2 separate regions of the Homo sapiens genome follow, and region 1 is linked to region 2. Evidence: promoter capture Hi-C in human tissues and cell types (Jung and others, 2019). All regions are on one chromosome and are shown on one strand. The core of a region is centred on a gene start or on the middle of the fragment in contact, and the rest is flanking DNA. Distances in the headings are between cores, read along the strand shown.

The links. Contacts are between HindIII fragments. The study calls those that stand out against the background at their distance.
Region 1: a contact is called between a fragment that was not itself captured here and the fragment with the promoter of NPHP3 in region 2, in 1 of the 25 tissues and cell types used here (H1 embryonic stem cells).

Annotation. Positions count from the first base shown.
Region 1 is chr3:133,269,399-133,274,817 of GRCh38, reverse strand. The region is part of intron 3 of TMEM108 (transmembrane protein 108); the gene reads right to left. Among named protein-coding and RNA genes, the nearest start is that of TMEM108-AS1, 15 kb to the right of the region's middle. The HindIII fragment of the contact is 6,490 bases long and covers 1-4,943 here.
Region 2 is chr3:132,720,405-132,726,254 of GRCh38, reverse strand. It overlaps NPHP3 (nephrocystin 3), which reads left to right and starts at 3,846. Exons shown (of 27, transcript NM_153240.5): 1 at 3,846-4,292. The coding sequence starts at 3,900. It overlaps NPHP3-ACAD11 (NPHP3-ACAD11 readthrough (NMD candidate)), which reads left to right and starts at 3,796. Exons shown (of 45, transcript NR_037804.1): 1 at 3,796-4,292. It overlaps NPHP3-AS1 (NPHP3 antisense RNA 1), which reads right to left and starts at 4,505. Exons shown (of 11, transcript NR_002811.2): 1 at 3,876-4,505. RefSeq lists an enhancer at 2,900-3,089 and silencers at 3,330-3,839, 3,940-4,189. The HindIII fragment of the contact is 5,332 bases long and covers 1,308-5,850 here.

The DNA.
Region 1 (5,419 bases), core at 449-2,948, 550 kb before region 2:
GACTGGCAAATGGTACAAAGGTCCACTGCCTGCAGAAATATGACCCCTTGACCCAAGGCATTCACTTAATTAGATACTTGTCACCCAGGGAAATGGTTGTTATTATTGCAGTGGGCAGGTTGTCATTTGTTCAGCAGTAACTACAGCTCTCCTACAGGAGGCAGTAGGAAAGGACTTCTTGCCCAACAGCACACCACTGTCTTTAGATAAATTCACAGAGAAACAAATCTACAAGGGAAAAAGAATGAAACACTTTGGGGGACAAAACAAAGTCACCAGCTACTTTGGGGGACAAAACAAAGCCCCCAGCTAAGTGGAAACCATTCTGTGAAAGTTAGGTACAGATTCCTTTTTGATACCTCCAAGCCAGGCTTGGGAAGACCTCCAGGCACTGTGCATGCAGAAGTACACTTGGTCTCTCCCATCATAAGAGAAAGGAAAGGTTTGAGGCAAGAGAAGGAAAGAAGGGAGTCACTCATCAGCCACAGTTTAAATCACGACATACTGTCCTAACAGGATTCTCTACAGCCTCGACAGAAGCACAGTTTATGAAAAACAAAACAAAATGAAACCAAAGTCAGAAGGCTTGTCCTCAGCATACTGGAATAACCAAGAACAATCTGAGATGGATCTTGTAGATGGGAAGGCAGTGGGGCATGCATCCGCTGTGCAGATAATTTTAGCTGTTTGAGAGCAGCATTACCTGTGTTCATACAAACTCGCTGGGAAGCATTGGGGTGAAAAGAACTTGGCCTAGGAGTCACATAGGACTGGGTGTGAATTTTGACTCAACTGAAAAAGTACTTAACCTCTCTCAGCCACAGTTTCTTCATTAGTAAAATAGACAAGAAAATAAGCCCCGAAGGATTGCTGTCAGGAGTAAATGAGATGTAAAACCCTTGAAGAATATCTATCCTATAAGACTGCTTGGTCTGACTGTTACGCCTGACCCTAAGTCTTCTCTCACAGAGTGGTAGTGAGTCGTCCATCTCTCCTCTCCTCTATTCTCTTCAACAACACCATGGAGGCATGATTGGCTAATCTATTTCTTCCGTTTGCCATGACTTGTTGCAAATGGATGAAATAGAGCATCTTGAAATGGAGCATTTTGTAATTTAACTGATTTAATGAGTCAGAAATTACTCAGCACATTTTAAAACACAGTATCTGATTTACACCTTGACTAGCATTTAAAGCCTGCAGTTCTTCCACCACTCACCCAGAACTCACACTCCTGAAGAAGGGACTCTCCAAAGTTCAGGGAGAGGGACCCTTTGAAGTCAGCACCCACTCCTGCTTCCTACGTCAGTCCTGCTGAGTACTTACTGTGGGGAGAGAAAGGGAAGGAAGGTGTGGGAGGTAGACGTGGTGTTTAGTTTGACTATCAATAGGAAATAATAGCTATACTTCTTAAGTGATGGATAAAAATCCAAGGCTTCTGATGAATGAACAAAAGAAAGAATCTAAGAGTCTGGATACCACTGTGTTCACTTGGTAGGGAAAAAACCCACATTTACTCTTCATTCCATTGGACACATCATAAGACAATTTTTATCCATAAGAAAACACATACATATTTAATTTTCTCCACCTTTAAGTCTCTTTTAAGACTAGGGTTATTTACCTGTGGTTCATTGATGGGTTAAAGGGGCTCATTAACCCACTAAAATTAAGGGCAAAGTTCTTGTGTATGTGTAGGTTTCTATGAAAAGGAAGTTTTTATTTGATTCTCAGAGGGGTTTGTGACCCACCCCTAAATGTACACACAATGACAAACTACTGGGCAAACCACCTCAGAGCCTGGTCCCTTCTCTGTCTGTAATGGGGGCTCTTTTCATGGTTATCAATGCGGACGCTGTTGACATCTGGGGCTGGGTGATTTGTCATTGGTAGAACTGTTCCACTCAATATATGTTAAGCATCCCTGGCATCTGCCCATTAAGTGCCAATATCATTTCCCAGTCATTGTGACAGCCAAAAATGGTCCCATACATTTCCATATCCCTCTTAGAGGGCAATACCTCCCCTGGCTGAGAAGATCAGGTTCACTTTCCCCATCTTCTCTTTCTTCATCAGAAAAATGCAGGAGGTAAGCGAGATGACCTCTAGTGGCCCTTCCAGCTCTATGATTCAGTAGTATCTCATACATCACTCCTAACCCCTGCCCCTAGTGTAATGCTTGCTCCTAGTCATCCCACTATGCTGACAGATGTGTGCCCCTTGGGGGGACCTGCAAGGTACCATAAAAATTGCATAGAACTGAGGCCTTGGTCCTAGACTTGGCTCTGCCCGTGGTTAGCTGCGTGACTTTGGGCAGTCCTTTAGCATCCCTGGCTTTAACCTCCATCAACTGTAAAAAGGATGAGTTGATTTAGAAGGTAAATGCCAGCTCTAAAATGGGATGATTCTTTGCAGTAATGACCATAGGGTCTATGAGATTTCTGTACATCAAGGAAGTTCCTAGAAGTCTATTCTCAGATATTAAAATAAGTCCTCCTTTAGGAAACACACACACACACACACACACACACACACACACACACACGTACGTGTATGGTGTTCTTATAAGGCTGAGTCAGAGCAAGATACTCCACATACCCCTCCGCCCCATTACCCTAAGTGTTAGATGACACAAATGAGATGCCTAAGAGAAAAAGTCTTATGGGAGGGAATATCCTATTTGGCCTTATTGACGAGAATCCAAGAATCTGCACAGCCTTAAGGAAACTGTGAGGCACAAAGCTCAGCTGTTAACTCCTCTAAGAGGCCTCCTTTAGCTCCTACAGCAGAGTTAAGCGCTCAAAACATAATTTAAATGCATTTTTATTGATTCATTAATTTTGTCAATAGCTGTTATTTGCTAATCTATTTACCTCTGTATCAAGTACATGAGGTCTTTGAACACAGAGATCATGTAAAATTTCTCTTTGCCTTGTTGATACAAGCCCAGCACAGAGGCTGAAACATAGTAGAGACCCAGATAAATGCAAAAAAGCAGGAATAAGGTTGGCCCATGGGCTAGAGAGAAATGAGATGACTAAAACAAGCTTAGCGTGCTTCTAGGTGGGGCTGGCTCATGACAGTTTGTAAATGTAGGCTCCAAGCTTTGTCTCCTCTGACTCCTATAGGAGAGTCAGAGCAGCGTCTGTTGTGTTAATCACTCTCTCCCTGCAAACAAGACACTTCCTGAACTCACACACTATCTGGGCAATCGTGTGAAGCCACCATACTGTTAATTCCTGCTATTTCTCTCTCGTGAACAGCATCTAATGGGCAGAAAGACCTTCTGCATTTTTCTCCAGAGACTTGACACCACATAAGAAATTATTTCCAAGAAATCACTTTTGAAATACTGAATTCAAATTTTCCTAGTCAAAAATGACAGCCTTGTAGTAGGAAAGTTTGTGGACCTTGTGAGAGAGGTTTTGAACATAGTATTGAAAAGGTTAAAAAATTAATATTTTTCTAAGGACAAATGTGTTGTGGTTGTTTCCAACTCCGCAGACAATTTGCCTCCACAGGGTTTTCAAGCACTGCCTATTCTCTGGTCCTCCTCCTGTTTCCCAACTCTTTCCGTTCTACAGCAGAACTCTTGACCTCCTCTCTCAACCAGTGAGCTGAGTCTTGCCTGGTCTCTACAATTGTCCATTTTGGCCCCTTGGGGATGGTGAGGAGGGCATGGTGTTGGGGGAAGGGCATGGCAAGATTGGCCAGATGTTGGGGTAGAGTTTGTGGATTGAAAGCAGGGTAGCGTGTTCATTTGAGGTAACTAGGAGTAGCAAAAACCAAAGAATAACAGAAGGTAGTGCCAAAACAGTGGTTGTGTCAAGAGGATGGCTTGGGGGCTTTGGAACTTCAATAATTTCATTAGCAATCCCTCTGCCCAAGCTGCACCAGAGTGAGTGAGGGCTGAGATTATGATCCTTTTCCTGACAGAGCTGTATGTTGCTTTAGTGAGCCTGGAGGGGTAGGGGTGTGTGTGTGTGTGAGTGTGTGAGTGTGTGTGTGTGTGTGTGTGTGTGTACATTCTTCGAACAGGCAGTCTTATAAAAAAAACAGGGAGAAAATCCTGGCAGCAGAAGTTGGAGATTATGACCAAGGAATGGAGCCAGGCTGCAGCCATATTTGACTGCCAAGATCCTCTTGAGGGCAGAAGATGCTCATGATACCTGCCTACTTCTGGGCAGGACTCAGAAAATCCCTTCTATGGATTAGGACCAGTAGCCTCCAGTCTTCTTCCCAGCTCCATCCAGCAGCCAAAAGCAGCAGCAGGTGGTAGGAAGGACACAGGGTTAGGAGAAAGATCTGGATTCACCTTTTAGACTTGCCTCTGCAGATCAGCTATGCAACCTAGGGAACGTCACAAACTCTCAGGGTTTTAATTGGTTTATCTCCAAATAAAGATACTAAACAGGTTTCAAGGTCCTTTAGAATCTTAAATTTATTCAAATAACATTTATCGAGTGCCTACTATGTGCCAGGTACTTTCTAGGTGCTGGAAATACAGCAGCAAACACAAAAGACTAAAATACTTGTCCTCAGCTTGCATTCTAGTGGTGGGAGGCAGAGGGTAAAGATAATAATAACCTATACTGTAGTTTAGAAGGTGACCAGTATTGTGGGATGAAATAGAGCCGAGTAAGGAAAGGAGGACTTTGATTGGGGGAGGGGAGAACTGCAAAATCTCTAATATCTTATTTTCTGGAATCTCAGAGAATGTTTTCTAAGGCAAACCTCTGAGAAATGGGGATATGATGCCTATTAAGCTGAGATAATCAAAAATAGGAAAAAGAGGTTTATCTTTCACAAGATTTGGGAATATTCTTAATTAGCATCCCTTCCCCCAACACTAGCTCACTCCAGGAGGAGGAAGTAGATCTTATTTTTAATACTCACTCAAGGTTTGGTGTGGGAGTATTGACATGAAAGTCCTTGAAGTTCAGGATGGGGTGGTACAATTGCAAACTTCCCTACATATTCCTTGGGAACCCCAGAGGAGGAGGTGTTTATAGGTGACAAGCAGCTTTGAGCTCTTCTCCCTAAGGCTCTGTAATTACTGGCAGTCTCAGATTTACTAGTCAGAAACATGTCTAACCACTCTAAATAGCAATGAAAACTTCATATCATGTGAGAGTCCAATTAAAAACTGACTCAATAAATGAGCAATAACTCATTGGAAACCAAACTATCAGGGGTTGGAACACAGGAGGGAGTCAGACAGAAGGGCCAAGGAAAAGGTACCAGTTTCCCTTTCACTTTTCCTCTATCTGGACATATGCCAATGAAGCCATTTAATCTCTAGCAGCTCCTGGAGCCAGTGACCCCAGTGCTCCTTGATGAGTTTACATAAAGTACCTCCTGATTAGTAGTAGGGACAACGGTTCATGCCTGGAGAAGAATGGGACTAAGGCTCTGGGAG
Region 2 (5,850 bases), core at 2,597-5,096:
TCATTTATTCCAAAGTGATAAATTTTATCAGGACATTATGACCATTTGTGATGCCATGTCTATCTCTAAAGTTGAAGCACAATACTATCGATATAGTCAAAATTACATTTGCCTTCACTATGATGAACTGCGAAGAAAGGTCACAGAGGAATCTGTATACATGTAAACAGATACTGAGATGGTTACCAATGGGGATCACACACATGTTGGCAATAATGAGATGGCCGAGGTGAAACCATTGGTTTTTAACCTTGACTACTGATTAAAATCCGCTGGGGAGCTTTAAAAAATTAATGATGTTCAGACCTCAACTCCTGGAAATTCTGATCTAATTGGTCTAGGGTGAGGCCCAGGCAGCAGTCTTTATTTTTTTAAGTTCTCCAGGTGATGGTAATGTGCAGCCAAGGTTAAGAACCATTTTTCTACAGTAGTGCTTCTCAAATTTTAATCTATATTCACATCACCTGGGAGATCTTTTTAATCTGCAAATTGTGATTCAGGAGGTCAGTGATAGCATGTGAGAATCTGATTAACAAGCTTCAGGGTGATGTTGATGCTACTGCCTGAGGACCATGCTTTGAGTAGCGAGGAATTAGATCATCCCTAGCCACAATTTTTATGCAGTCTCAGTGTTCTGAGATCCTAAAGTACATAAGCATCACCTGGGAAGTAACTAAACATGCAAAATTGTCAAGGTCCCCAAATTTTTACCAAATGTCCCAAGTGATTGTGAGATTCATAGTCTGAAGACCAAATACACACTACTCTACCCAAATGATATTTATTCTACCAATCCCATTTAAAAAAAAATGGCAGGCCGGGTGCGGTGGCTCAGGCCTCTAATCCAGGACTTTGGGAGGCCAAGGTGGGTGGATCATGAGGTGAGGAGTTCAAGACCAGCCTGGCCAAGATGGTGAAACCCCGTCTCTACTAAAAATACAAAAAAATTAGCCGGGGGTGGTGGTGCACGCCTGTAATCCCAGCTACTCGGGAGGCTGAGGCAGAAGAATCGCTTGAACCCAGGAGGCAGAAGTTGCAGGGAGCCGAGATCGTGCCACTGCACTCCAGCCTGGGCGAGAGAGCGAGACTCCGTCTCAAAAAAAAAAAAAAGACAGTAGCATTGTTTATCAATTTATAGGCTGCCCGATCAAATGTAGAGACATTTTTTCTTATTCCAGGTGAAAAGACAAATTACCAAAATGTAATGGCTCAAACCAACAGTAATTTTATTATATCTCATGATTTTGTGGGCCAGAAATGTGGGCAGAGGTTGGCTGGGTGATTTTCTCCCCTGTAGTGTATACAGAAGTCACTTAATTTCTAAGTAGTGAATGCACTAGTCTGAAGAGTCCAAGATGGCTTCATTTTACATGTCTTGGTACTCTGGTTGGAAAGCTGGGCCCAGCTGAGACTGTCACCTGGAATGCCTACATATGACCTCTTAATTTGGGCAGTCTCAGGTTAGTAAGTCTTTACATGGTGGCTCAACACTCCCGAGTGTTCCAAGACACAAGAAGTGGAAGTCGCCATTCTCTCAAGACCTGGGCTTGGAAACTGGCACAGTGTCATTTCTGCCACATTCCACTGGTCCAAGCGGTCAGAGTTCACTCAGGTTCAAAGTGAGGAGTCATATACAGGCTTGCTTCATGGCCATGCAACCCCATGTGCAGTAACGCAGGGCCCAAAACTCAAAAGGGCCCCATACTTGGCTTAATGCTCTGCTGTAGCCATCTTGAAAATATTTATAATTTTTGAATAAGGGGCATTACATATTCATTTTTCACTGGGTCCCACAAATTGTGTAGCTGTCTTAGCTGTCTTTTCTATGGGAGGACTATTAAAAAAAAATGTGGCCATCTTTAGTAAGTTATAAGCCACCTGCCAAATATTTTATTCTCACTATATTTCTGTATTAAAAGTTATTCTTTCAAAATGCAGACTGAAGTACGTGGGTTAAATTCAGCATGAAGAAAAACAGGTTATGAGGTTAGAAATAATGTCTTTTTTTTTTTTTTAAAGACGTAGTCTCGCTCTGTCGCCCAGGCTGGAGTGCAGTGGCGCCATCTCGGCTGCAAGCTTCGCCTCCCAGGTTCACGCCATTCTGCTGCCTCAGCCTCCCGAGTAGCTGGGACTACAGGCGCCTGCCACCACGCCTGGCTAATTTTTTTGTATTTTTAGTAGAGACGGGGTTTCACCGTGTTAGCCAGGAAGAAATAATGTCATTTTTTAGGATTAAGAAATTTGGTCACTTTGGCATTGACCAATAGTAATCTAAGATCAGTACGCAAGTAGGGTGGAGAAATGTGGATTAGAGGCATGTCACTGGATAGAAATGACGTGGGGAAAGGAGAGATGCATGCTTCAGAGCACTCAGTTCCAGACTGTAGAATCTGAATGTACTCCCCAAGCTGTAGGAAGTTAGCATAGTGAGTTTGGTTATTTGTTGGAGAGAATGGGTGATGGCTATTTTATCTTCTTACTCAAGCATAGTTATGGAAGTGTTCAGCTGAGGCCCATTCCAAAGGAGGTACTAAGATGCAAAAATGTTCAAAGGGTTTAGTCAGAAACCTAGTGGATGATCCTTAAACCCCTGATCCACATGGAGAATTCAAAAATTTGAAGTTAGAAATCAGAACGGATTTGAAAAGGTAGAAAGTTCTTAAGGTACTGTGATGGTGGAAATATTTCCCTTTATCTCAGGAGACCACCTGAAGAAATTAGTATATACACTCTGGATTTTGAAGAATGCAAAGGCCTAGTATGACTACTTCCTGAAGAAAATCTAAAGGGTAAGAGAAGAGATGACTAGCCACTTTGATGGAGGGAATGAAGGAGAGACTGGTGTGCGGTCTCCAATGTCCCATGCCGCAATGAGTTAAAAAACTTAACCTTGTCTAAGGATTGTCCCTGGTGGTTTCAGACTGTAAAATCTAAAAGCTCTTTCTTTGCTGGCATTATTCCTTGCTGGTCATTCTATCTACATGCATACTGAGAGAGAGATATCGCGGGAAGCACATAGCAGGCACTCCATAAATTTTTCAGATTTCCCAACTGCTTCCAGAAAGGAGTTTCCGGTCAGGCACGGCGGCAGCGAAAGAAATAGCTGCAGCGTTTGTAGAGCAGCTGGGACCCAGGCCTGTGCTCCCTGTGAGGCACGCCCGCCAGGGAGCCTCGAGCCGGGCGGAGACAACGGAGAGAAGCCCTATGTCGGAGCACCACTCCACCAGCGTTCGGAGCACCCCTCCACCAGCGTCCGGTCCACTGCTGGTCCTGCACAGTCGCCACTCCCCCCATCCTTCCTGCTAGCCCCGCCCTTCTTGCTAGCCCGCCTGGCCCTGTGTGCTTTCTCGACCCACCCCCGTTTGCCCTGCCCCGCCCACATGCCCCGCCCCACTTGCCCGGCCCCTCTTGTTGTCCCGCCTAGCCCTGCTGCCCCGCCCCGTCCCCCTCGCCCATCCCCCCAGTTCCGCTGCCCCGTCCCGTTCCGCTGCCCCGCCCCTCCAGTTGCCCCACCCCCTTCCGCTCTCCCTCCCCGCCCCGTTCCGCTGCCTCGCCTCGTCCGGCTCTCCGGCCCCGCCCCGCCCCGTTCCGCTGCCCCGCCCCGTCCTGCTCCCCCGCCCCGTCCTGCACCCCCGCCCCGCCCAGTTCTGCTGCCCCGCCCCTCCTGTTTCCCCGCCCCATCCCGCTCCCCCGCCTCGCCCCGTTCCGCTGCTCCGCCCCGTCCCGCTGCTCCGCCCAGTCCTGCTCTCCGGCCCCGCTCCATCCCGCTGGCCCGCCCCGTCCCGTTCCGTTCCTCTGCCCCGCCCCGTCCCGTTCCGTTCCTCTGCCCCACCCCGTCCCGTTCCGTTCCGCTGCCCAGTCCTGCTGGTACTCACTAGGTAGTAGCGGCAACGGACGCCATGGGGACCGCCTCGTCGCTCGTGAGCCCCGCGGGCGGGGAAGTGATCGAGGACACGTACGGGGCGGGCGGCGGCGAGGCCTGCGAGATCCCGGTGGAGGTGAAGCCCAAGGCCCGCCTGCTGCGCAACTCGTTCCGCCGAGGCGCGGGGGCGGCAGCAGGGGCCGGGCCCGGGTCGCTGCCCCGCGGGGTGGGCGCGGGCGGGCTGCTGGGGGCCAGCTTCAAGTCCACTGGCTCGTCGGTGCCAGAGCTGGAGTACGCGGCGGCCGAGTACGAGCGGCTCAGGAAGGAGTACGAGATCTTTCGCGTCAGCAAGAACCAGGAGTTGTTGTCCATGGGCCGCCGCGAGGCCAAGCTGGACACGGAGAACAAGCGGCTGCGGGCCGAACTGCAGGTAACGCCGGGCTGGGCCGCGACGCCGGGAGACCCTTGGGAAGCACGGCCGTCCTGCTCCCTCTCCAAACCAAGCGGCTTTGAAAGTTCGGCGGAAACTGCCCATTTTAATTTGAGAGGCCATATTCTCTTCGAGTCTGAAATGATTCCTTAACCCTCCCCTTTTTCTGTCTCTTTTTTTGGAGACAGGGTCTCGCTGCGGTGGCACGATCGCGGCTCACTGCAACCTGGAACTCCTGGGCTCAATGATCCTCCCGCCTCGGCCTCCTAAAGTTCTGGGATTACAGGAGTGAGCCACCGCGCCTGGTCCCCGCTTTTCTATTTCTGGTTTATTCATTGAGGCACCTAGAAGAAATTAGCCGGAAAGTGTCCTGAGGAGGCAAATGCCAATCTCCAGCTCCACTGCCGCCCCCGCGCCCACCCCCTCAGAAGGCTGGTGACATCTGTTGAAGCAACTCAGCAAACTCTTCCTAGGAGTTTCACCCCCCTCCCCACCATAAAAATTTTAAGTGGGTCTCCAAAGTGGGGCTCAAGTGTCGGTTTCTTTGTAAAGTTTCATCGCTCTTGCATTTTAATGGTCTTGACATGAAAATTTCTGGAAGCCTCCTGATCTCACCATGGTTGAAAACCTTCTCTAGATGTAGTCAAATTTCCCTAGTCCATTTGATTAATTTACGCTAAAAGCAATTATTGCATGCCCTCCATGTAGCAGGTCCATTATAATTCAATAAAATAGTATGTAAAGCAGCCGGGCGTGGTGGCTCACGCCTGTAATCCCAACACTTTTCGAGGCCTAGGCGGACGGATCACCTGAGGTCAGGAGTTCGAGATCAGCCTGGCCAACATGGTGAAACCCCGTCTCTACTAAAAATACAAAAATTAGCCGGGCATGGTGGCACGCGCCTGTAATCCCAGCTACTCAGGAGGCTGAGGCAAGAGAATTGCTTGAACCCGGGAGGCGGAGGTTGCAGTGAGCCGAGATTGCACCATTGCACTCCAGCTTGGGTGACAGAGCGAGACTCCGTATCAAAAAAAAAAAAATAGTATAAAGCAAGAGGTTGCTTTTCTGTGAACGAATCTCTAAAACTTTTTGCCCTCAGTTTGGGGCCCCTCTGGTCGTTGTTGTGTCGTTTGTGTACTCTTTACTGTGGGAGAGACTTATAGGCAGCCTAAGAGTTCCCGGAGTCGTTACAGTCGGGGTGAAATAAATACCTCAGACTGATTTTTCTAAAAGAAAAAAAGCCTCCTGTCTTCAAGACTAGACATTCTTCTAGTCAGGTTTTGTTGTTGTTGTTGTTGTTGTTTTTGTTTTTAAACTCCCTCATTAGCTGTTGTGTAATTATTGTCGTTGTCTGGGAAGAAGTCCGTGTAGCAGTTTATCTGTTGTCTTATCAGTTTTCCTACTGGGCAACCTTAATGCACTTGCATGTATAAAATGGACTAGTGCATTTCAAATATCTGATTCAATGTATCCAAGCCACTGCCCAACAGACACCGCACGTTGGAAACAACTGTGAGGTGGGGGTAGAAAAGGCCAAACCAAACAGGGCGGAGTGCAA